6 separate regions of the Homo sapiens genome follow, and all the other regions are linked to region 2. The links are contacts of gene promoters, found by promoter capture Hi-C in human tissues and cell types (Jung and others, 2019). All regions are on one chromosome and are shown on one strand. Each heading gives the region's core, a stretch centred on a gene start or on the middle of the fragment in contact. The rest is flanking DNA. Distances are from core to core; before and after follow the strand shown.

Region 1 (4,064 bases), core at 6-2,505, 470 kb after region 2:
GCCCACAAGCAACTAGTTCTGTAATCTCTTAAATCTTTTTTCTTTTTTTGAGACAGAGTCTTGCTCTGTTGCCCATGCTGGAGTGTGGTGGCGCGATCATAGCTCAACATAACCTCGAAGTGCTGGGCTCAAGCAATCCTCCTGCCTCAGCCTCCCAAGTAGCTAGGACTACAGGTGCATGCCACCACACCTGGCTAGTTTTTGTTTTGTTTTGTTTTGGTAGAGATGGGGTCTCCCTGTGTTGCCCAGGCTTTTTGAATATTTAGGGTAAGGTCTACCATAGGGACTACATCCTAGAGGTTGAGTGTTCCTTATCCAAAATGCTTGGGACCAGAAGTGTTTGGGATTTTGGAATATTTGCGTTGTATATACTTACTGGTCGAGCATGCTAAATCTGAAAATTCAAAACATGAAATGCTCCAATGAACATTTACTTTGAGCATCATGTTGGGATTCAAAAAGTTTTGTATTTTGGGGCATGTGGGATTTCAGATTTTTGAATCTGGGTTGCTCAACCTGTATATCCCCCTCTCATAGCACAATGGTTCACTCCAGTGGGCCTGGGACCTGGTTAGAGAACATTCTGGCAGCTATGCCAAGGGCCTCCCCTTGATAGCTGTAGGCACTCTCCTTAGATCGGCAGTTCTCGCCCTTCTTTGGTACATTACAATCACCTGAGAGCTTTCTAAAAACCACCTGTGTCCAGGCCCCAGTTAAAGCACAATCTTAGAAAGGGAGGGGGTCAGACACCAATATGTTAAAAAAAAAAAAAAAAAACACCCCAGATGATTCTAATATGCAGCTGGGGTAGCGAATTCCTGTGTTAGATGAATGCACTGAATTACACTTATTCCTGTCATAGTAATTTAAAATTACACATTAAAAATTTCACAATGCAAAGGGGATTACAGTGGTGAGAAGTGTGTGTGAGTTATTTGTGCACACAAATACACGTGAAGGTGATGGTTCAAGAACTTCTTGTACTTTGCATGCTTTTCATTTCTGTGGCATGTAGTGGAAACACAGCAAATGGCTGAAGGATAGAATTTCTTGGACTCTGGAGTCAGGGTGGGTGTTAGAGGACAGGCCATTCCCAGAGCCATGGAAGTTTGATGCAGAGGTGAACATAATGGTTCAATAAAAAAGCAAGTTTCTAGCTTTCTGTCTCCACTTCCGAATCTCTTCAATCCCCCTCTCCTTTCTCTTCCACTGCTACTTTATTTAACCTCATAAATTATGCAGCTTTATATGAAGTCTGTAGCCCCTTTGAGGAAGCATATTCAAATATTAGATAATGGGATTTTTTTTTTGTCCTTTAAACACAAAAAAAACATTGTGTGCACCTTACATGTAAGTGGAATGAATGTATTTTTGCCACTAATGTTGAAAATATCCTTAGGCATCTGGTGTGTATGAATGTGTATACATAGTATATGCATAATAAACACATTCCACCTTATGAATATTTATATACAAGATACATATATATTGAATATAGACATACATATGTAAATAGTAGCCCTTGAAAATTATATGCAAAGTGTGTTTCCAAGCATATATATCATAGTGCATCAGGAATATAATAAAGCTACTACCAAGTTTAGCATATTTTGAGGTGGCATTTTCTACAGAGTTGTTTATGGTAGGGTCTACTTACTATCCACGTATGGGTTTTTTCCATCATCACTTAAATGTTTGTTAAATATCAACTAAAAGTAAGGCACTGGGCATGGCAGAACAAGAAAGATGAAATTGATGTGGTCCCTGCCTTTAAGAGACCTGTACCTCATAGAGTGGCTTAACATTTTGTTATGAAGAATCTAATATTGTCACTGCCCAATGGCATCTTCCTACTTTCTTACAACTGCCTTTCATTTATCTATGCCACTGCTGCCTTTGCCAGTTGGGATTTAAAATGTGACCCATTTGAGCTATATTAATTTAAACCATGGCGTAGCTGCAAAGTTGTTCCGATGCAGTAAGAAGAAACATCATTGGTCTCAGTGCCTTGTAGCCACTGGACATGAACAACAATTAAACTTTTTTCTCTGTCGCATATAGCCAATCCTATAACTGCATTTTTATTTTAGTCTGATTTAGTAGGAAAAAAAGGTACAATAAAAAGGCACCAAGCATGAGGGATGTTATAAATCTCAAAAGTGAACCAAAAGAGAGCAATCTCTTTTCCCCACAAACTTCTTGTAACCTAAATATTACTGACCATGACATTGCACTTCCAAGTTCCATCTAGTTCCCTCCCTGGACTAGGTAGCAGAAGCTTTCTTAAACACAAGCAATACATTCTAAAATGTACAAAATATGGATCTCTTTCTAAAATGACAAGCCCCAGTATAGCCAGGGAGCTCTGAGTGACACTCATCAGGGCAGATTTTGCTCCATTAAAGGAGGAACAATACATAAGCATTGTCATCTCTGCCACAGTGTATGCTCATTGTTTTCTCCCCCCTCAATCCATACATAACAACAGGTAGTTCTCAGCTGTTCCCTTGGTGCCAGACATACATTTTATCTAAAGAGACAGCAGACAGAACTACCTGCTGCTTCCTGTGCGGCTCTCCCTGTGTTTCTCTCCTTTTTCCTACTTCACTAGGGCTTTTAAAAATCAGCTGGCAGGGAGCCAGGAGCTCATCATTTTAATGCAGTGTAAAATGGAATATGCATAATTATATGCAAGCCATATGTGAGGGAGACAGCTCAGCTGTGAATTTCAGGAGGCCAGGAAAGAGAGAGCAGTTAGGGCTAAGATGAGATGAGAGCAGAGCGGAGTGCAAGTGTCACGCAAATGAATGGTTTAATGAGTGTGCTGCAGACACGCCCCCTTTCACCTACCTCTCCCTTCTCTCCCACTCCAAACCAGAAACCAGTGGAGATTAGAAAGAAGACTGTATGCAAGCGGTATTGCTAATGGGTTCTGTTAATGTCTCCATTTAAACTTCAGCTTTCTTAATTAACAGCGTAGATCAAAATAACCAGTAACTTTTAATGCAGCTTTTAAATTAAATCTTTTTTTTTTTTTTTACTGCATTTGATTGAAGAATCATGGTTCTTACCAGATCATCGCTCCTTTTAGATCTTTATTTAAAAATGGAGGGGAATCAGTTTATCTCTAATAGTATTACAATGCAAAATATAATTATGCAGATTGCTTTTCTTATGGCCTTGCTATTAGAATTTTTTAAAAGTGCATTATCTAGAGATTGCTTAAGCATGCCAAAAAGTTTAAACACGTATGTATGTCATATAATCCTAAATGTGCAATGAACAATGCGCACTGAAAAACTAAGGTGGTGGTAATTGCCAACAAAATTATTTGATTTTGGTTTGCTTGATATTGTTTTAAATATTACACCACAATGAATTTGCATGTTCAAACTAAACAATGTAAAGAAAAATAAATCCCAAATTTTGATACCTAAAAGGCGTACTGCGTATTTAAACAAACTTCTTAATATTGTTGTTATTTCTGGATTCCCGTTTGTTGAATGATCTGAGCTGTTATGCTTTTTAGCTTTTTTTCTTCCATTATTTGTAAGTCCCTAAATAGGCCATTATATTTCCCTTCAGGCTAGAGATGAAGATGGACATGCTGAAAATTTTCCCCAGCAGCACTATGCTAAGGAAACTCCAAGGCTTGCCTTCAAGAATAACTGCGAACTACTTGTAAGAATAACATACTTACAACAAGTCTAGAATGTTACTTTAGCACAGTGAAAACAGTTTTTGAAAGGGTTTGTTCATGATTACATAATTGATGAAATATTATAGTTTTCTGTATAGAGTTCTAAATGCTAATTCTGATATCACTGAATATTAATTTTAAGATCTCAAATTGTTTGCAAATCTTTTATATCTGATTATAGAGCTTGAATGGCCCTGTCTTTATTAGCTTGTTGTGTTTAGTAGTTTATAAGCAGCCACTTGGAGAATGGCTAGTAAAGTTAAAAATATAGAGAAAGACAGTTGATATATGTAGCTTGGGAAAAAAGAACCTCACCCTCACCCCTCCTCCTACGTCCTCATTGTACACTATTTTAGGAGACAAC
Region 2 (4,271 bases), core at 627-3,126:
GTTAGAGGCTGGGGATGTGAAACTGTGAGGGAGATAAAAAATCTTGCCCAAGTCCCAGTACCGAGGAAAGCTTGACAGGCTCTTGTATGGTAGTATAAAGCCAATATCTAGGGATGAATGGTTTAAAAAAAAAAGAGAGAAAAACGGACTGCAAGGGTGGAAGTGGGGAGCGGGTAACAAGAGAAAGTCCTCCATCCCAGCCGTTTATATACCTGGCTACCTGAAGGACTCAGTTCCTTACCTCAGTTTCCTGCAACCGTAGCTTTCTGGCACTATGCCACGCTGCCCTGTGGCATGTTTACTATTTGTATTCAACCATTCAAAAGTTACTTTAAGGAGATGAACTGCACATTTCCAACTCTAGTGAGTAACCTTGTTCCTCCCGGCACTCTTGTCGAGTTAGCGTTTACGTGCAGAATTCTTCCAGAAAGACCACCTGAGCAATCAATAAAACTTTTATCTCTGTAAAAACACCTTGTTTAAAATAGCTACATAGGGAGACGTAGGTAAACAAGCACACAAGGGCCTCCAAATCGGTGGTGCACAGCTCACGGATGAGGCAAGGGCAAAGCATGCGTGGGAAATCACGTTTATCATAGAGAAGGAAAGGAGCGCTCACGAGGAGCGGCGAGCGCCCCAGGCTTCAGCTTTGCGGCCGGCCGGCCAGGCCTCGCGCCAGCCCGGGTGCACACCCAAGGCGCCGGGCCCGCCTCCAGCTCCTGGGCAGCGGGAACCGCGAACCGCCGTGGAACGGCCGGGAAGGGAGCGCTGCGCCCCCTGGCGGCGGGGCCCATCCCTCTCCGCTCCCGGCCGCCGCCGCCGCGGGCCGGCCTCGCTCCATTTGCAGCCTCCGGAGGCTTCGTTCCTCCGAGCGGCTGCTCCCCCGGCCTCCCGCTCGCCGCCCGGCATCTCCCTCCAGTCCCCGCCCCCTGCTCCCGCTCCGACACCCCCTTCCACACGCCGAGCAGTGCCCCGCCAAAGCCCCGCCGAGCGCGAGCGCCAAGCCGCCGCGAGTACGGCAGAGCCTTCCGGCCGCCCCGGCCGCTCCATCGCGGCGCCCGGCGGGGGTGCGGGGCCGGCGCGCGGCGCGAGTGGGGCGGGCGGCGGCGGCGGCGCGGACGGTTCCACCGCGCGAACCCCCCGCCCCCGCGCGGCGCGCGTGCTCCCCAGAACGCCATGGAGCCGCCGCGTTCCGAGCGGGCACAAAGGGGCGCGCAGCACAATGGGCGCGGCGAGCCCGTGGGCGCCCGGCGCCCGCTCCGGTCGCTCGGCCCGCGCGGGGGTGGGCGCTACTACCGGCGGGCGCGCTCGGAGCAGCCCCCCTCCGCGTCCCCTCCCCTGCTCCCGCCCCCACCCCGGCATGGATGTTGCAGCCACTCTACCGGCCGCTCGCCCCGGAGCCGCCAACGCTGCCGCCGCCGCGCGGCCGGCTTGATCCGCCCCGCACTTACCTGGGACGCGAGTTCTGTACTTTGCCGGGCGGGCCCGCGCCGAGTTTGGGCGCCACGTGGGGGGGAGGGCGCGGGGCCGGGGAGTGGGGGCCGCGCGCGGAGGGCCTGGCCAGGGCGGCCCGGGGAGGCGCTGGGGGCGGCGGGCGGGCGAGCGCCGTGTATTTTCCCCTCTCTTTGTGTGTGTCCGTGCGCTGCGCTCTCGCGTGACGTGACGGGACTCCGTGTGTCATTTCCGCACAAGGACACAGGAGCCCCCGCTGCAGTGGAACCACAACCCCTCCGCCCCCACCCCCGGCCCGCCCCTCCCCCTCAGCGGGGCACACGCGGGACCGGCGGCGGCGGCGCTCGGGCGTGAACGGCCGCGGCGGGGAGCTCGGGCGCGCACTCCCGGGACCCAGGCGGCCCGGCGCGCTCGGCCAGCGCAGTGGCTCCACGTGGGCCCGCGCTGGCTGCCCGGGGCGGGGGCGGCGGCCGCGCACCCACGGCGCGCCGGGCAGGCGCCGCGAACAATGTCCCCTGTACCCCATGTGTCCTCCCACCGCGAGTTCGTCCTCGGAAACGTGGTTTCTCAGACCCGAGAGTTTGGCCCCAAACGGCTTTTTCTACTTTTTTGCCCCTTGCGGGACGGCGACTGTGCGGAGCTTGTCCCGCCTCGCGCCCACGCCTCTCCCGCATTTTTGGCCTTTGGGCCGCAGCCCAGGCCCCCGGGGCCGGTCTTCCCGCGCCGCCACCGGCACAAAGACCTTGGGGCGCGAGGGCCCGGGTGGCTCCTGCGGCCCCGCGGGGCGGCATGGAGTCCGGCGGGACCCGGGAGAGCGACCCTGGCGCTGGGAAAAGCTGGCTCTGGCCACTCCCCCTGCACGGTGGCCGCCCTCTGTTGTGAGCCTCAGAGCTAAAATCTGCTCTTGCAACCCGAAGTTCTGGGGTGTGAGGCTGCGGAGCGAGAGCTTCGGAAGCGCCCGCGCTCACAGACACACACCCCACAAACACAAACCCACGGGCTGTCTGCGCCGAGCGCCTAAAATAGAAAAACACGAGTCACCAACTCAATAAAGGCTGATTCTGTCTACTCCTAACTCTTGGACTGTAGATTCCCAGTTGATAAATACGAAATCTACCCCTCGGGTATTTTCTCAAGTCTCAGTGGCTGGGTAGGGGGAGGGGGAGGTGCTGGGTGAGAGTCAGGGAAGCCCAATTCAACAGTTTAGCCACGTTTGTATTTTAGGCAAACAATGAGAATGTAAATTTAAGAAAAATCCTTTAATTTGCCGATCAAAGAAAGTATAAAAAGAAAAATGCAAATGATCCCATCTGCTGCTCACAGCTGACTGGCTGCAAGGGAGGACCATGTGGCACGGCCCTGCGCGGTCAGTGAATAGGTAGAATAGATTTTTAAAAGAAGGCATATGTTGGCTCCTTGCTGCCCAGTCGCGGCGAGGGTTTGAATTAACGTATAGTTTGGGTTTACCGTACCCTCCTTCAGACCACTCCAATTGGGAATTTAGTAATTATGCAAGTTCCCCCCCTTCGGGCTTGAAATCAAAAGGCACAGGGTTAAGTTTGAGGAACTACGTGGAACATTCTCGAGCTGTATTTGGATTACTGGTTTAGTGAAGTCAGTACTAATTGCTATGCAAAATTAAGCAAGCAGCCTGAAGAACCAAGCCCTGCATCCAGGGGGTGCTTTTATAGAAGAATCTATACGTGCTCAGTGTCATTGAAAACAGGATGATGAAAAGAATGGGGCCGAGATAGCAGCCCTTCAAATTCAAAAGACTTAGGTCGCCCTATCTACATTTAAAATAGGGCGGAGGGAGGAAGGGAGGAGGACTGCTTGGGGGAGAATGGTTAATTTATACATTCGCAGAAGACTGAGGGGAGGCACTTCGATTTCTGCAGAGAACTTGACTTTTACACTTGCACATTAAATAACACGTACGACACAGTACATCGCTTGACTTAGTTAACAGATACACCAGTTTTATTCTCACCTTCAATTTAATGTGACAGTTATAATTAGAATTTTTAAAGTAGAAGTTGCATTTCATTAGTTCAGTTTTCTAGGATTTCCCAGTAGAAGAGTTAGGAATAGTTAAGTAGCACTTAAGCACATTTTGCATTTAAATCACTTTGCTGTGGTGCTTTAAGAATGTAAAACGACCTTGTTAAATTTTTGGAAAGAGGACTAGATGAAACGTGTGTAGTGAGGGGATATATATTTAACCAATCTTTCACAGTGACAACTCAGGTTTTTAAGGAGAAATTAAATAATAAGACAATAGAGATAGAAATTAACATTTCTCTGTTCATATTGCTTGAAACAAAAGATTTCTGTCAAATACAATAATTGAACTGATATAGCTGACTTTTCAAAACAACTTTCAGGAAACTCAAACGGACCTTGAATATTATTGTAAAAGTATGTATCTTATATTTGCATAAATGGATCTATCTACTTAACAAAGTAAGTGGCTTGTTTCAAATAAGTTATTAATAGAAATAGAAGTCATTGCTATCCAAGAAAGGAAATCACCTTCCTTCAAATGGTTTTCTATGTGGTTTTCTTTTTTATATGGAGAAGGAAAATAACGCATAAAGGTGAAAAATGTATTGGAATAGTTGTATATAATTTTGGAAACTTCAAGACATAATAGTTTTGAAAGTGCAGTAACAGTTCATGGTTCATACGGATGTGTGTGTAAAGACCCGGAAAAATAACAACCTGGTTTTTAGAGGTCTGCTCAATTTGAAATTGCTTAATAAAAAATGCATTTTTCAAGATTTCAAATTAGAGCTGCTGCCATCGATCTAGTCAACTCA
Region 3 (4,010 bases), core at 339-2,838, 290 kb after region 2:
GGGCCGCAGTTTTTGTCCTGGGAGTTTGGCAGACTGGGGTGGTTTTGCAACCTGAGGATGAACTGTTTGTGACTTGGCTGGCTGTCTCAGCTTGCTGCAAGAGGTGGTCTGCAAGAGAAAGTCTTGCTAGGTCAAGACCATGGGAGCAATGCAGGTCCCACTACCACGTGCTAAGCTGTGGAGCTCAAGCAGTCCCTTTTTCCCCATACTGGCTCTCTAGCATGGCAGTGGTTGTCCTACTGCTCCCTGGAGTGTTGCTCCAGGGGCTTGAAAACAGCCTTCTGACCCTTATCAGGGCTGGTGTTTGCACCTGCCATTGGAGGGCCTGAGCACAGACTTGCCTGGCCCAGCTCTACCCAGCTCTGCCCTGCCCCAACTGCCTTAGAGACAGACCATAGGTTATGGTAATTGCAGAGGTTGCACAAACTTTGTCTCCTTCCCGAGCACTGTGCAATTGTGTCAGCAGATACTATAATGCGCTGAACTTCAGAACCTGAAGACAAGTCTTTACAACTAATCCATAGCCCAGCCCGTTGCATGGGACATCCAAGTACTTCTCCTGGTTAACAAAGGTCAAGTATAAACACTACTGCAACCATCACAGCAGGCTCTCACCTGTAAGTATCAATTACTGGCCAGGAGGTCAACATGCAAAGCCCATTACAGTATCTGCTGATACAACTGTACAGTACTCAGGAAGGACACAAGCTTTGTGCAACCTTTACTATTACCATTACCCACACAAGCCCGGCTACTCAGGAGACCTTGAGCCTACTCTCCCTACTGGTACATTACTACTACAACTGGCATTTGAGAAAGCTGCTGCATTAAGGCTTTTTATAACCAAGGAAATTATACAGTGTCTATACCAGTGAATGCACCCAAAAGCAAAACTAGACAACCCTACTAAACATCATCATAGACACACCCTCAAAAGAAAAAAAAGTCCTACTCCAACAAAAGTAATTCAAAAATAAAAAGAAGCGACTGTTACCCCAGATGTGAAGGAATCAGCATAACACTGAAAGTATGAAAAAACAAGGTGCTATGAGATCCTCAAAGGAGCACAGTACATCTCTAGCAATGGATCCTAACGAAAAAGAAATCTTTGAAATGCCAGGTAAAAAATTAAAAATACTGATTTTAAAGAAGCTCAACAAGATAAAAGAGAAATCTGAAAACCAATACAAAGAAATCAGAAAATCAACTCAGGATATGAACAAGAAACACAACTTCTAGAAATGAAAAACTTGTTCAAGGAGTTACAAAATACAGTTGAAAGCTTCAACAACAGAATAGACTAAGCAGGTGAAAGAATTTCAAAACTTGCAGACAGGCCTTTTGAACTAACCCAGTCAGACAACAATTAAAAAAAAAAGGAATGAACAGCTGAGCACAGTGGCTCATGCCTGTAATTCAAGCACTTTGGGAGGCCAAGGCAGGCAAATCACGAGGTCAGGAGCTTGAGGCCATCCTGGCCAACATGGTGAAACCCTGTCTCTATTAAAAATACAAAAATTAGGCCGGGCGCAGTGGCTCACACCTGTAATCCTAGCACTTTGGGAGGCAGAGGTGGGCAGACTTCCTGAGGTCAGGAGTTCGAGACCAGTCTGGTCAACATGATGAAACCCCATCTCTACTAAAAATACAAAAAATTAGCCAGCTGTGGTGGTGGGTGCCCATAATCCCAGCTACTCAGGAGGCTGAGGCAGGGGAATTGCTTAAACTCAGGAGGCAGAGGTTGCAGTGAGCCGAGATTGCGCCATTACACTCCAGCCTGGTGACAGAGCAAGACTCAGTCTCAAAAAAAAAACAAACCAACAAACAAACAAAAAAAACAAAAAAGAATGGACAAAGCCTTCAACAAGTATGGGACTATATAAAACAATCAAACGTATAAATCATAGTGTATTAGTCTGTTCTCACAATAAAGATATACCAGAGACTGGGTAATATATATATACACACACACACACACATATATATACGTATATATATGTATACATATATACGTATATATGTATACATATATATACACACACATATATACATACATTTTATATATATATATATATATAAAAATATATATACATGTGTATATATATGAGGTTTAATGGATTCACAGTTCCACATGGCTAGAGAGGCCTCACAATCATGGCAGAAAGCAAAGGCATGTCTTACATGGCAGCAGACAAACAACATGTACAGGGGAATTGCCCTTTATAAAACCATCAGATCTAGATGGTTTTATAAAAAGCAGTTTATAGAACTATAAACTAGAACTAGAACTATAAACTAGAACTAGAACTCACTCACTATCACGAGAATAGCATGAAGGTAACTGTCCCCATGATTCAATTATCTCCCCACCAGGTCCCTCCCACATTTGGGGATTATGGGAACTACAGTTCAAGATGAGATTTGGGTAGAGACATAGCCAAACCATATCATTCCACCCCTGGCTCCTCCCAAATCTCATGTCCTCATATTTAAAAACACAATCATGCCTTTCCAACAGTCCCCCAAAGACTTAGCTCATTACAGCATTAAACCAAAAGTCGAAGTCCAAAGTTTCATCCGAGACAAGGCAAGTCCCTTCCGCCTAGGAGCCTATAAAGTCAAAAGCAAGTTGGTTACTTCCTAGACACAATGGGAGTACAGGCATTGGGTAAATACTCCTGTTCCAAATGGGAGAAGTTGGCCAAAACAAAGGAGCTACAGGCCCCATGCAAGTCCGAAATCCAACAAGGCAGTCATTAAACCTTAAAGTTCCAAAATGACCTCCTTTGACTCCATGTCTCACATCCAGGTCACGCTGATATAAGAGGTAGGCTCCCACCGTCTTGGGCAACTCAGCCCCTGTGGCTTTGCAGAGGACAGCCTCCCTCCCAGCTGCTTTCATGGCTGGCGCTGAGTGTCTGCAGCTTTTCCAGGCACATGGTTCAAGTTGTCAATGGATCTACCATTCTGGTGTCTAGAGGATGGTGACCCTCTTCTCACAGCTCCATTAGGCAGTGCCCCAGTGGGGACTTTGGGTGGTGGCTCTGACCCCACATTTCCCTTCTTCTGCAGCAAATTTCTTCCTGGACATCCAGGTGTTTCCATACATCCTCCAAAATCTAGGCAGAGATTCCCCAACCTCAATTCTTGTTTTCTGCACACCCACAGGACCAACACCACATGGAAGCTGCCAAGACTTGCGGCCTGCACCCTCTGAAGCCACAGCCTGAGCTGTATCTTGGCCCCTTTTAGCCATGGCTGGAGCGGCTGGGATGCAGGGCACCATTTCCACCAAGTCCAGCAGCTGCACACAGCAGGGGAGCCCTGGACCAGGCTCAAGAAACCATTTTTCCCTCCTAGGCCATGGGACTGTGATGGGAGGGGCTCTCCAGAAGGTCTCTGATATGTCCTGGAGCCATTTTCCCCATTGTTTTGGCAATTAGCATTTGGCTTCTCATTACTTATCCAAATTTCTGCTATGGGCTTGAATTTCTCCCCAGAACATGGGATTTTCTTTTCTACAGCATCATCAGGCTGCAATTTTTTCAAACTTTTATGCTCTGCTTCCTCTTGAATGCTTTGCTGCTTAGAAATTTCTTCCACCAGATACCCTAAATCATCTCTCTCAAGTTCAAAGTTCCATACATCTCTAGGGCAGGGCAAAATGACACCAGTCTCTTTGCTAAAGCACAACAAGAGTCACCTTCGGTCCAGTTCCCAACAAGTTCCTCATCTCCATCTGAGACCATCTCAGAGTGGACTTTACTGTCCATAGCACTATCAGCATTTTGGTCAAAGCTATTTGACAAGTCTCTAGGAAGTTCCAAAATTTCCCACAACTTCCTGTCTTCTTCTGGGCCCTCCAAGCTCTTCCAGTCTCTGCCTGTTACCCAGTTCTAAAGTTGTTTCCATATTTTTGGGTATCTTTACAGCAGCCCCTCCTTCTACCCAGTACCAATTCACTGTATTAGTCCGTTCTCCCACTGCTAATAAAGACATATCTGAGACTG
Region 4 (4,216 bases), core at 20-2,519, 500 kb after region 2:
GCTGATTTCTGCTTGTTAGTTCTGCCTCTGGAGAGCAGGAAGAGGAGGCAAAATTTAATCAATTCCAGTTATGGACGGGAAAGGATTTTGAAACTCTGGGTTAAAAGAAGATGACTAGTTAGAGACCAGCCTGGGCAACAGAGTGAGACCTTGTCTCTAAAAAAAAATTTATAAATTATCCAGGCATGGTGGTGTATACCTGTAGTCCCAGCTACTCAAGAGGCTGGGGTTGGAGCATCACTTGAGCCCAGGAGATCAAGGCTGCAGCGAGCTAGGATCATACCACTGCACTCCAGCCTGGGGTGACAGGGCGAGACTCTGTCTCTGGGCAAAAAAAAGAAAAAAAAAAGAAAAAAAAAGGATGCCTACTCATTGAGGAAGGGGGGTGGGGGGGGGGCGGGGGGGCGGCTTCAGCCATTGTGGAGTCTCTAATAAATCAGGAGCTTTTCTTTCCCTCTGGAGCCTTTCCTGTGCACTCTTGGGATCTACTTGTCCTTTGCAAAGTCTAGTACAGCCACCTCTCCCATGGGGAAGGAGACACTTAGCATCCTGGGACCACCAGTCACAGCTTTAGGACTTTAGCTTTCCTGGACCAGCCCTGATGGCACCATGCATTGCCTGGATGGTATGCACGGACCCAGGCTCCCTTCTGAGACTAAGAACAGACATTTGCATTCAGGTATTTTGCATATGCCATTGATAGCACTGAAAAGTAAAACAATAGAACAAGATACTAAAATCTGGGAAGATTTTCTTGGGACTTTCAGTACATCTAGCTTCCTCTCTGGTCACAAGGGTAGACAGCTGGGGACTTTTCTATTACTGGGGTAGCTCCCTTGTAATTTTCCACTTTGAATCTTACATCTTTTTGTATTAAGTTAAATGGTGTTTTGCTCTTTAAAATAGCCTTGTAATATGGCTGGTCTGCACTGCTCGCTTTGTCTTAAAAGGGAATAAAATTCTTAAATTGAAAGCAAATCGGAGAGGGTTCTATGGCGCTCTCTGCGAGGGGCCGAGCGTGGATTCGGGTCTGATGATTACTTTGACTGCAGAAACAGTGGGGGCTGTAATCTCCGAAGCAGCGGACACTCACAGCGACGGTTGGCCCAGTCCTTTGATTTAGACAGCCCTTGGCTGTCTTGCCTGGCCTAGAATCCCTATTCCATTGAAGTCTGGCCTCAGGCTGTCTTCTTGGGCAGTGCCATTTGCATCCAGGCATGGGGAGGGCCTCTGTGTCCTCAGGGTGCCGTGTGTTTGTGGTGAGAGAGGATGAACAGGCAGCAGACAGGGGCTCCCGGGCAGTTGCTGGGCTGCTGCTCGAGCGTCTGCCAGGCATGATGAAATGGGAGGAGGCAGGGAAGGCTTCAGAGCAGCAGGGTTCACCCGCACACCTAAAGTCCTAACAGCATGCAGGCATGGTATAAAACAGGTGATCCCTTAATGAGGTTTTGATGTGTGCGCTGGCTTTTGAATTTTATGCTGGAGTGTCACTGCAGTGTGGGGTTATCTCCAAGGAAACCCTCACATACCTTCCACATCCATTTTCTAACCCCGCTTCTAAAGAGGGCAGCGTGCCCCAGTGGTCTTAAGGGGCATTATAAAACTCTCGAGATAAGATTAATTTGGATTCTTGCTAATTTGGAAAGTCAGTGTAGTCATGAGGAATGTGTGAGTGTGCTGAAAAAAGTGGAACCAGCCACCCTCTAAAAGGCAGGGTAATTATTATACAGGGTTGGGTTGAACAGAGGGTTTGTGTCGCCTTTACTGTTGGTGATCATCAAAGATGTCTTAAGCTAAGAACACAGTTGTCTTTCTCAGTGTGACTCCCGTTTACTGCGTATCAAGCTGCAGGAAGTCCAGCTGATGTAAATAGATTAATATTTAAAAAGTAATACAGAAGAATGAGGTTCCAAACATGTAATGTTTAATTATTGAAAACCCATAATGGAATTCCAATCCAAACTCATCTCTCACATCTCACTGGTGTTCAGCAAAGAAGCTCAATTAGCTGGGGAGCCTGCCCACCCCACAGCTTGATTTGATCATCCCAGGGCCAAGCCCATGCTCTCTCTTAAAGTGCCTGGCAACACAGATGTGGGCAGCTTGGGTTGTTGTATGACTCCTTTTTTTTTTTTTTTTTTTTTTTTTCTGAGACGGAGTCTCTCTGTCGCACAGGCTGGAGTGCAGTGGCACGATCTCAGCTCACTGCAACATCTACCTCCTGGGTTCAAGCAGTTCTCTTGCCTCAGCCTCCCAAGTAGCTGGGACTACAGGCACCCGCCACCAAGCCAAGCTAATTTTTTGTATTTATAGTAGAGATGGGGTTTCACCATATAGGCCAGGCTGGTCTTGAACTCCTGACCTCAGGTGATGCGCCCGCCTCAGCCTCTTAAAATACTGGGATTACAGGTGTGAGCCACCGTGCGCGGCCCGTATGCCTTCTTATTACATAATTGTTGCAGCCCTTTTTAGTCAAATTAATGGGTAAATGACTGTACAGTGTGAACAGGACAATAGAGAAGAATTTGCATAACTTCTAACTGGTACAATTCAGGAAAGTTAGGTGACCTTCCAGAAATCATAGTATTAAGGGCATTCATAGTTCCTTTGGGTTTATTAGGCCATGAAGTATTTGTCTGGTTAGAAGAGTTTACTTAGTCTAGGGGTAGCTGATCACCCATTCTCCTCTTGAGACCATAGTTCTTTGGCCCTTTAGGACATATGTGTCACTTACTCTGGATAAGGCTGAATTTGCGCAGAGGCCTGTGGCAGAGAATGGCCAAAGGAAGAGATAAAATGATCAACATGACTAGAATAAACCCTCATCCATAGACCAATGGGATTTAGTTCAAAATCAGTGTGCCAGCAAGGCTGTTTGAAGTAGTTTTCTTGATTTTATGTTTTTATTTAGCATGACAGTTAAGGACAGTCCTTTGTGTATAAATACAAAAAATAGCGATATGCCATTTGTTGTTGTTTGGTTTAAGTGCACGTGAAGAGGCTGCTCAGTTGTGGCCCCTTTCTCATGTAATGCTCAGGAATTCATCTGTCATGCAGAAAATGCAGCTGTGTGACCTAAAATGCTCTTGGGTGAAGCCTCGGGGTTTGGAAGGTCACGCCATAGGTACTGGTATTCATGACATCCTGTCGGGCTTGTGGGCTGCGTAGGGTAACTAGAACTGAGAGGACAGAAATTGAGTTTGTAGTGACTGCAGAAGCTGAAACCACAAGGTGAAATGTAATAGGGTCTAGGCCTCAGTGAGCACAGGAAGCTGATTAGAGGTGAGCAGGGGCGGGGGAGCACTGAGGCTGAGAAAAGTGCCACAAGGGGACGAGTAACGTTGATTTCTGGACAGAGCCTGTTAACATGCGGAGGGGCCCATGTGTAGGAATCACCTTCACCTTCTCCTGCAGTTCAGTTACAACTGGTAATTGCATCCTGAACCCTTATCATGTGCAGGATGGGGTTCTGGGGTGTAAAGGTGCCATGAGATCCAGGCCCAGTACCACAAAAGAAAGCTTTAATTAAAGAAAACATGATAAGGCTTAGGTTTCCTGGCCCCATCTTATGCATCCAAGTGATTAAGGTAGCATTTTTCAAAGTGTTTTCCTATAGAAGCCTACTTTAAAAATAAAAGAGTTCTGTTTTTGAAAAGCTGGGGAAACTCTGGATGAATGAAGTTTAAGTATGTTTCTTTTCTGCAGATCTCCTCAGAGGCTCAGGCATGGCAGCCTGCACTGAGAACCTCCAAAGAAGAGCATAGAATATGCAACATTTCCCAAGCTTATTGGGCCATGGGATCCTTTTTGGGGGACAGAGCATTTATTGGTGGATCTAGTGTTTCTCAGCATATACTTTAGGAAATAGAGAGTTGGGGCATATTGGTCAGTGGTAGGGTCGGTGGGGTGGGGGGCAGTTGGAATGGGTTTAGGAATAGACAAGAACCTGAGAGAGTATTCATATTTCCTTTCTATGGAGACCCTCAGAAATAGTAGTGCAGGTGTATGCAGGCTTCTATAAGAGGCATGTCCTGGTGTAAACTTTATGCTTTTGCACCAGCAGAAGACAAGGCCTCCCAGCCCTTGGATTTGAGTAGGTCCACCCAGACTGAGGCTGTCCTGGGTACGCCACACCCATAGCAAGATACAGGGTCATTAACCACCAGGAGGGAGTATTACGGGATTAGGCAGGGACCTTGAAGTCACTGCCCCTTCC
Region 5 (3,901 bases), core at 92-2,591, 430 kb after region 2:
CAGAAAGCCTCTGGATTTGAAATGGGTGAGTGTCCATTATCATAATTTTGAGAAAAGCCAGACTCTAAGGAATGACAGAACAGTACAAAGTTTGCAGGGTCACTATTTGAGGAGGCTCCTTTGAGAAAAACAAAACAAACAAACAAAAAACAGTATTTATGTCTTGAGTTAGCATTTGATACAAACCTAAATAAAAATGACCAAATATAGCCTTGCAAAAAAGTAAGGTAAGTTGTTTGGATTTTCAAAAATCCAAGTAATTCATTTAGAGTTTGGCTGACTCCTCCTGAAGAGACCCTTGAGGAACATAAACAACTGAAGACAAGGAATAAAGCCCAGCCTTGGATTAAGAACCTGGGGAAGGAGTGGATGATATTCCTCAGGGTAGAGAAATTAATAGTGTACCATCCCAGGGGTTTATATTAGGAGTAGTGTCACTTGGTAATACTGATGGCTTATTTGGCAGTAGATGACAGGAAGGAGGTAGCATTCACTACTTTCTCTTAGTTGCTTTCATTTGAAAAACCACAGAGAATTACCCTCCGCCCAAAAAGAAACCCTTACAAATATATACATATAATGAGGTAACCTGACATCAGATGCAATTCCATTCACTCAGCCATCAGCGAGCACAAGGGAACAAAACGTTTTAATCCTCACGTCCCTGATATGGGCTGACTCTCAGCATCCCCAGAGAGGAGAACTTGGTCCCATCTGTAGGGGGCTCATTGTGTTACCTGCCTAGAGTAAAAAAATTAACGTTTAAATGTTTGACTGCATTAAAGACAATTTTTAAAAGCAGACAAAAGTACGTCAAACAATATGCTGATAATCAAGCTATGTCCCTTCTCACAGGAAATGTGTAGTTCATTCTTCTTGAACCTGATTTTTATAAAAGGCTAACGCTGAACTTTAAAAGAGTTGACACAGAGGATTAAATGTGTTTTTATTATACTGCAGGCTATACAAATATGGGATACAAAAGCCTGAAAAGGTATATTGTTGAGGACAAAAGAACTAATAATAAAACTAAAGAATTGGTAAATGTAAATGTAATCAAAATGTACTCAGCCTCTTAACACTCAGGGGTAACCTTTGCAGTTGGCCACAATGGGGAAAGACTAGGTCAGACTCCATGGCAGATGGTTTAATACATAGTACATACATTAATCCACGGAGGCAGCCCTGGAAATGCAAGCAGGTTGTTAATGATCATGGATAGTAGTTGTGAGCTGTTCCTGGTCTTGCAGTTAAGTGTTCAGATGTCATGCTTCGGGGTCCAAGTTGATGGGTTTCTGGGTTGGGAAAACATTTTCCCCCTTCTATTGCACTGCACAGCTGATAAGGCATGCTTCAGGGAAGGAGTGATTTAGACTACTGCAGGTGAATGGAAGGGAGAGAAGGTAGACTTACAACCCAGTCCCATGATTTAGTTTGATGACTTTTTACTTCTAGTTAAAGTGGTACCATTGAGAGTTCATTGAGTATGAGGGATTTGTGAATCAAATGTAAAGGAGCAGACACCACTGCTGTAAATCTAATAGAACTTCAAATCTGACATCAAGTCAATACTGCTTACCAACAACAACAAAAGGAATCCCCAATCTCATGGCCTACTGGCACCAGAGAAAACCATGTACCAATAATATAATTTTCTTTTTCTGTTTTCTTTTTGTTTTTTTTTTTTTGAGACAGAGTCTTGCTCTGTTGCCCACGCTGGAGTGCAGTGGCGTGATCTTGGCTCACTGCAAGTTCCACCTCCTGGGTTCCTGCCTCAGCCTCCCGAGCAGCTGGGACTACAGGCGCCCGCCACCATGCCTGGCTAATTTTTTGTATTTTTAGTAGAGACAGGGTTTCATTGTGTTAGCCAGGATGGTCTCCATCTCCTGACCTCGTGATGCGCCCGCCTTGGCCTCCCAAAGTGCTGGGATTACAGGCGTGAGCCACCGCGCCCAGCCAACCTATAATATAATTTTCAACGTTCTTTATCATGAATTGTTTAATAAGTAGAAAAGAATATTGACCTCCCAAATTTCAGCACAATCAAAGTTGACTTAAATAGTGAATTAAGGGCTGGGTGCAGAGGCTCACATCTGTAACACCAGCACTTTGGGAGGCTGAGGTGGGAGGATCACTTGAGGCCAGGAGTTCGTGACCAGCCTGGACAACATAGCAAGACTCTGTTTCTACAAAATATAAAAAAAATCACCCAGGTGTGATGGTGAACACCTGTAGTCTCAGCTGCTAGGGAGGCTGAGGTAGGAGAATTGTTTGAGCCAGGAGTTTGAGGTTGCAGTGAGCTGTGATTGTGCTACTGCACTCCAGCCTGGGTGACAGAGCAAGACCTTATTTCTAAAAAATAAATAAATAAATAAATAAATTGAATTAAAAACAGATAAACCGGCCGGGCGCAGTGGCTCAAGCCTGTAATCCCAGCACTTTGGGGGGCCGAGGCGGGCAGATCATGAGTTCAGGAGATCGAGACCATCTGGCTAACATGGTTAAACCCTGTCTCTACTAAAAATACAAAAAAATTAGCTGGGCATGATGGCAGGTGCCTGTAGTCCCAGCTACTCGGGAAGCTGAGGCAGGAGAATGGCATGAACCCGGGAGGCGGAGCTTGCAGGGAGCCAAGATCGCACCACAGCACTCCAATCTGGGCAACAGAGCGAGACTTCATCTCAAAAACAAACAAACAAACAACAACAACAAAAAAAAACAGATAAATCCAGAGAATTAATTATAAAGAGGCATACTCCCAAGCCCTATACTGGGGTGGAGCTCATGGAAGTTATTTGTATTATTGAAGCACAAATTGATTATAGAAGCTTAAATCAAAATAACCAGAATTAAATAGAAACTCAGGAAAAAAAAAACCCTAGATGCCTTATGGGGTTTCATTTAGGGTGTCATTTTGCATTAAATGCGATGAAAGAAGAAAGTTAAAGTGCCCCAGAGTAAATGGAGTTAGAACTTTATATTTCCTTTCCCCCAGAAGTACAGCTCCCCTCCTCATTCAAGCCCTTTTGCTCATTTTTTTTTTACATTTCTAATGTAGTCATTTAGTACTTAGTAAGTATCAGTTAATTTTTAATTTTTTATGATCATATAATTCAGCTCTGGATAAGGAGATGTTTGATGTTCCATGGCCTAGATATTTGGCTAAATATTTGATCAGGGGCAAGTAAAGGTGATATAGACCTCAATTTCTTTCTCCCTATGTGTGTAGGGAGATGGGGTGATGTACTGGAGAAAACCTATGTCAAAACAACCGTGATAGTTAACCCCTATCACCTGCACTCTCCAGGGATGTCCAGGGGCCTGGTAAGGTATGGTCATGTTACTCTAACCCAGCTGTGCATGGGAGGAGACATGGAGAGATGGGCCTTACTCATTCCTGGGAAGCCTGGCACCCATGGGGTCCCTCCTCTCCACACCTGGAAGGCCAGTGGGGACAGGAAGGAAGTTGGCAGCTTCCATTTTGGTCTTGAGTCCTAAAGCTGAAATAATCCTTTCTGTCACTCAGCCCCCTTGCAGGGCAGCTGCTAACAGGAACAGTTGACCCACACTCGGCTTGGACCAGGATACTGGAATAGTGTGGGTAGTGAAAGGCCAGAGAGAAGCATAAGAATGCATATTTGGGTACAGACTGGTGTCTGTAAAACAAGCACATGAATCTGCAACTCAGTGAGGTCCTCAGAGGATGGAACTTGTCTCAGGGCTGGGTGCCGTGGAAATTAGACATCTGAGACGTGGTTTCTGCTCAGAAGAGTGTCTGTTTGAGCGTGTGAATTGTCCTGTGCTTGTGTGGAAGTTGACTTCACGCCACACATTTATCCACTTACGCATTTATTCAACAAGCAATATTGAGCATCCGCAGTATGAAGGGCATTGTTCTGTG
Region 6 (4,055 bases), core at 575-3,074, 420 kb after region 2:
CAAAATGTGTGACAGCTTTTAGTCCTTTTTGTGGAGAGAGGTCTGTGAGGATGGTTTATAATCTTACTGCTTAGAAAAGCTGTGGTCTCTAAGGTGTAGTGGTCAAGAGCTTGGGCTCTGGAATCAGATGGCCTGGTCCTCAGTAAGGCTCTGATATGTACTTATTGTGTGATTAGGAGCAAATTACTTAACATATAAACTCACTTTCCCCATTTGCACAATGGAGATTAATGTTAGTAACTGCCTGGTTGGTGGTGGTTGTGAAAAAGATTAAATAACATTGAAATGAGCCGTGCATTGTGCGGGCACCTGCGAAGTACTGCTATCATTATGTTCTTTGTGGTTTAGTGGTCCCAGTTTTCTCTGGGTCTCCTTGTATGTTCACTCCTAGAACACAGGGAATTGTACAGAAACTCCTGGTGGACTCTGTAGAAACTTTAAGTTAGATTGCTTTAAAGTGTTTGGAATTGAATTATTTCAAAAAGGAATTTCTTTTTTGCAGAAGTTATAAAGAAAGCAAACTTCAGTTTCTTGCCTGCTTTCCAGGCCTTGACTTTATTCTGTTTTTAAATATAGCTGCTGCAACAAGTAGATTGACACAGTGCAGCCCGGCCATGGGCCATTTCATGTCATTTCATGGCATGGGGAACACACAGGAGTCTCCTCAGACTGCCTTGTAACTTGTCTCAAATATAATCCAGGTCTTTCATTGATTATCTGGATGTGTGCATTCTAGGAACTGTTGGAGGAGATAGATGTCCCAGCAAATACTTTCGGAATTTCCCCTCAGTCTTGGACTCCCATGAAAGTTACAAAGGGGTGGTAAATCTACAGTTTAATTGCCTGGAGTCCATTAATGCCCTACTGATTTTCTTTGGGCACTGGTCAGGTAAGTTAGTATACATGTTTATAGCCAATTTAAATGCCCCAAGAAGATCACTGACCAATGGCCATCCTTATTTTTAAAAGTCACCAGATAAGGCAATTTCTCAAACAACTTCAGCAGGGCATTCCAGAAATGCTTGATCTCATACTTCTCTGCACTATAATAAATACAATTTTGATTTCATCTTGGAGTAATCTGAACTTCTGGGATGTAAAGTAGAAAAATGTTCTATAGCTCTTGGAACATTAGATTGGAAAGAAAATGCCTTAAACATTCTGCTTAATTAAATTCGGTACAAATTTTTCATGATTAATTGAAATATGCTTATTTTGACTGATACATATTTATATGATATTATCATATGAAAATTATGTTATACAAACCGTTCTCTTTGGGAATGTGATTTAATGCTGTAAACATTTTACATTTGTTGTATTGTTTATTATAAAAATGCACAGGCTGATGGCTGTAAGGTAATGTCATGTAAAAATCTGTTATGTGAATCTTCTCTGAGGTAATCTCAAGTCTCTAATGGCACAGACCGTTAGCCAAAATGTAAGACAGGTAATTAGGTTTTCCCTAGCTTGAAGAAATATTTTTTTAAGTAGAAAAAAAAATTTAAAGCAGATCAAGTTAGAAAAGTTAAAGTGCTGAAACCTTCTATTTTGCCATTGTAAAGCATGCATTTCATTTCCATGTTTATTGTAAAGCATGCATTTCATTTCCGTGTTTCAGGTAGAAAGAGATGCAGGGTTGAAGTGGACTGATCCTTTTGACTTTAACCACTTAAGAAGTGTTCACTTTTCTAGGGGTGCAGTCATAAGATGGGGACACCATCTCATGTCTGATGACAGAATTTTGAACTATAGTTTGGCTGACAATATTAATTTAGATAATCACAGTTCTTTATTAGTTTCTAAAATCTGTTACTAATATAAAAGACTTTTATAAATCTAGAATGCCTGAAATACCGGAAAATGTTTTTTAAATTTTTTGAATAACCCAATTATCAGACTGTTCTTTGGATCATTAGCTGCTGATAACAGTTTAATACTAGAAAAGGAGAAATCTGATGGGCTTTTCCCAAAGCATATACCTTTATGAAATGGAGTTGTATGAAAAACTGCGGGGAGCGTTGACTTATTTAACAAGGCAGATGCTAACCATCATTCTAGAAGTTTTTCCAGCAGCCAGATATAAAAGTGCACAATGTATTTGGTCTCATGTCATATTGTTGCTTTGTAGTAAGAATGATTTATAAGAAATAATCTGTTTTAAAATTCTACCTTTTTGTTCGTTTATTTGTTAGGTCCTTTGTAAGAAAGTATTCTTGCCTCCCTTTAAAAAATGACAAGTGGGTCTGTCTGGTGATGATGGATTGAAGCTTGAGAAAGACCCCGGAGCTGCCCTTTGGCCTCAAGCATCATTCCTTCAGGCCAGGTCCAAGCTGCAAGCTAAGCGCCTGGCCTTGTGAATAGCTTTGCACTCTATTCTTTCTCATCTCAGTGTTGGTCCATTATAGCTGAAGATCTAGGACTTAAACAGTTTTATGCTTTGTTTCCCAAATCAGATTATTTAAAGGAAGAAATAATGAGGGGGACCTAATGCATGTTCTAAAATGGCTCCTTGGGAAGTGGGGTCTCCTCATTAAACTGTGAGGCCAGGTGATTTCCCGCATAAATTTTTTTCCTTACAGATTTCACCAGAATCAAGCTTACTGCCAGTGGATAATTTATGAGAATTCTGCTGTATCTTCTTTTTCAGGAATTTAAGATTTTAAAGTATCTTATCAATTGGGAAAAATAGAAACTATTAGTTGCTATCTAGTTTAGTAAAGATAGGTGAATATTTTAAAATATATGCTATTTCTAATCTAAGAAAACTGCTCCATACACCAAGGTAAATTATAAAGCTTTGCTAATTTTTCATACCATGTAAAATGTTCATATGTAGAGAGATGCCATATTAGAGATCATGTAAAATATAAATAAAAGCTTGCTTTTATTTATTTATTTTTAAATTTTTTTTGTTAAGGATATTCCTGAAATATCAAAAAGCTTGCTTTGAATAGAACAAATTATTAAATACAGTAATTGTTTGACATTTGATTTCATATTATACCATTTAAAGAAAGTTATCAAAAATGTTGGACTGACATCAAAGGTCATTTTTTATACTATCTCACTTGATAACAATAGATCACAATATGTAATTTGTGAAATACTAAAAGGTCATTAAAATGGCAATATTTATTCCATTGAGGTAAATAAAATGCTGCATATAGTTCTGAGTGGTGATACTCAGGGGGAAAAAAGCCATATCTCTGCACTACAAATTAGTTTGCTTCTAATTTTGCAGGCTGATGACCACACTGCCTCAAACCAAATCTTTTCCCTGGAAATGAAATGATTGCATGACAAACTCTATGAACCCTGAATATGTCAACAACTCGTGGACCAGGCCTTGCTTAGCAATTAGTCTTTGGGGGATTTTATCCAGAAATCAGACAACACTATACGAGTGCTTGTTGGGGATTTTATGATTACCATTCATGTCTGGAGCATGAATGTGGGTTAATAAAAAAAAAATTCCATAAAGGAAGAAGAGATGTGGCAATCAGTCTCTCTCTCTCTCACACACACACACACACACACACACACACACCACACACACACACACACAGTCACTATCAATTGGGAGGACAGAGAAAACTCAAGATGTAGCAAAAGCCGTTAAGAGGCAACAAGGAAATATTACTTAGGTGTCTACTTAAAGTTTCCTTTTATTCACCCCCACCCACCCCTCAGAGGCCAGTTTTTCCCAGACCTGAATATCACCATCATAATGTTTGTCATAACTTCTGACCACCTGCACTATGACTTACTGAATATATTTTACTAATTGACTCACTTTAAAATCCTTTGTTTTAAGCAGTAGTATTTGTGATATCATGGGCTCATTATGCTAGTTAAATTTGTTTTCTTCTCATACAAAGGAAAAGAAATACAATTTAAATAATGGAAATATTTGCAAACCACCTAAATTCATTCTGAGCAACCCCATGACATGACATGAGGGGCTGGGAGGACCACCAATCTGGCTGAGAATGATCTGGCATTCCCATTACCATCCCTCCATCCAGGGCCCAGGAACCACATCACATGGAGGA

What was found. Contacts are between HindIII fragments. The study calls those that stand out against the background at their distance.
Region 1: a contact is called between a fragment that was not itself captured here and the fragment with the promoter of BEND3 in region 2, in 1 of the 25 tissues and cell types used here (dorsolateral prefrontal cortex).
Region 3: a contact is called between a fragment that was not itself captured here and the fragment with the promoter of BEND3 in region 2, in 1 of the 25 tissues and cell types used here (small bowel).
Region 4: a fragment that was not itself captured here is called in contact with the fragment with the promoter of BEND3 in region 2 in 2 of the 25 tissues and cell types used here (mesendoderm cells and thymus).
Region 5: a fragment that was not itself captured here is called in contact with the fragment with the promoter of BEND3 in region 2 in 1 of the 25 tissues and cell types used here (dorsolateral prefrontal cortex).
Region 6: a contact is called between a fragment that was not itself captured here and the fragment with the promoter of BEND3 in region 2, in 1 of the 25 tissues and cell types used here (aorta).

What each region holds. Positions count from the first base shown.
Region 1 is chr6:107,583,495-107,587,558 of GRCh38, forward strand. It overlaps SOBP (sine oculis binding protein homolog), which reads left to right. Exons shown (of 7, transcript NM_018013.4): 5 at 3,586-3,681. Among named protein-coding and RNA genes, the nearest start is that of SOBP, 95 kb to the left of the region's middle. RefSeq lists an enhancer at 2,157-3,049. The HindIII fragment of the contact is 4,254 bases long and covers 1-3,382 here.
Region 2 is chr6:107,113,639-107,117,909 of GRCh38, forward strand. BEND3 (BEN domain containing 3) reads right to left here and starts at 1,877. Exons shown (of 4, transcript NM_001367314.1): 1 at 1,452-1,877. RefSeq lists silencers at 591-1,500, 1,631-1,680, 1,721-1,770 and enhancers at 2,363-3,126, 3,127-3,892. The HindIII fragment of the contact is 9,723 bases long and covers 1-4,271 here.
Region 3 is chr6:107,400,476-107,404,485 of GRCh38, forward strand. All of the region lies in intron 1 of PDSS2 (decaprenyl diphosphate synthase subunit 2), which reads right to left. Among named protein-coding and RNA genes, the nearest start is that of PDSS2, 57 kb to the right of the region's middle. The HindIII fragment of the contact is 5,895 bases long and covers 1-4,010 here.
Region 4 is chr6:107,615,698-107,619,913 of GRCh38, forward strand. The region is part of intron 5 of SOBP (sine oculis binding protein homolog); the gene reads left to right. Among named protein-coding and RNA genes, the nearest start is that of SOBP, 130 kb to the left of the region's middle. The HindIII fragment of the contact is 4,763 bases long and covers 1-3,651 here.
Region 5 is chr6:107,546,584-107,550,484 of GRCh38, forward strand. The region is part of intron 4 of SOBP (sine oculis binding protein homolog); the gene reads left to right. Among named protein-coding and RNA genes, the nearest start is that of SOBP, 58 kb to the left of the region's middle. The HindIII fragment of the contact is 4,925 bases long and covers 1-3,804 here.
Region 6 is chr6:107,528,723-107,532,777 of GRCh38, forward strand. All of the region lies in intron 3 of SOBP (sine oculis binding protein homolog), which reads left to right. Among named protein-coding and RNA genes, the nearest start is that of SOBP, 41 kb to the left of the region's middle. The HindIII fragment of the contact is 3,696 bases long and covers 1-3,672 here.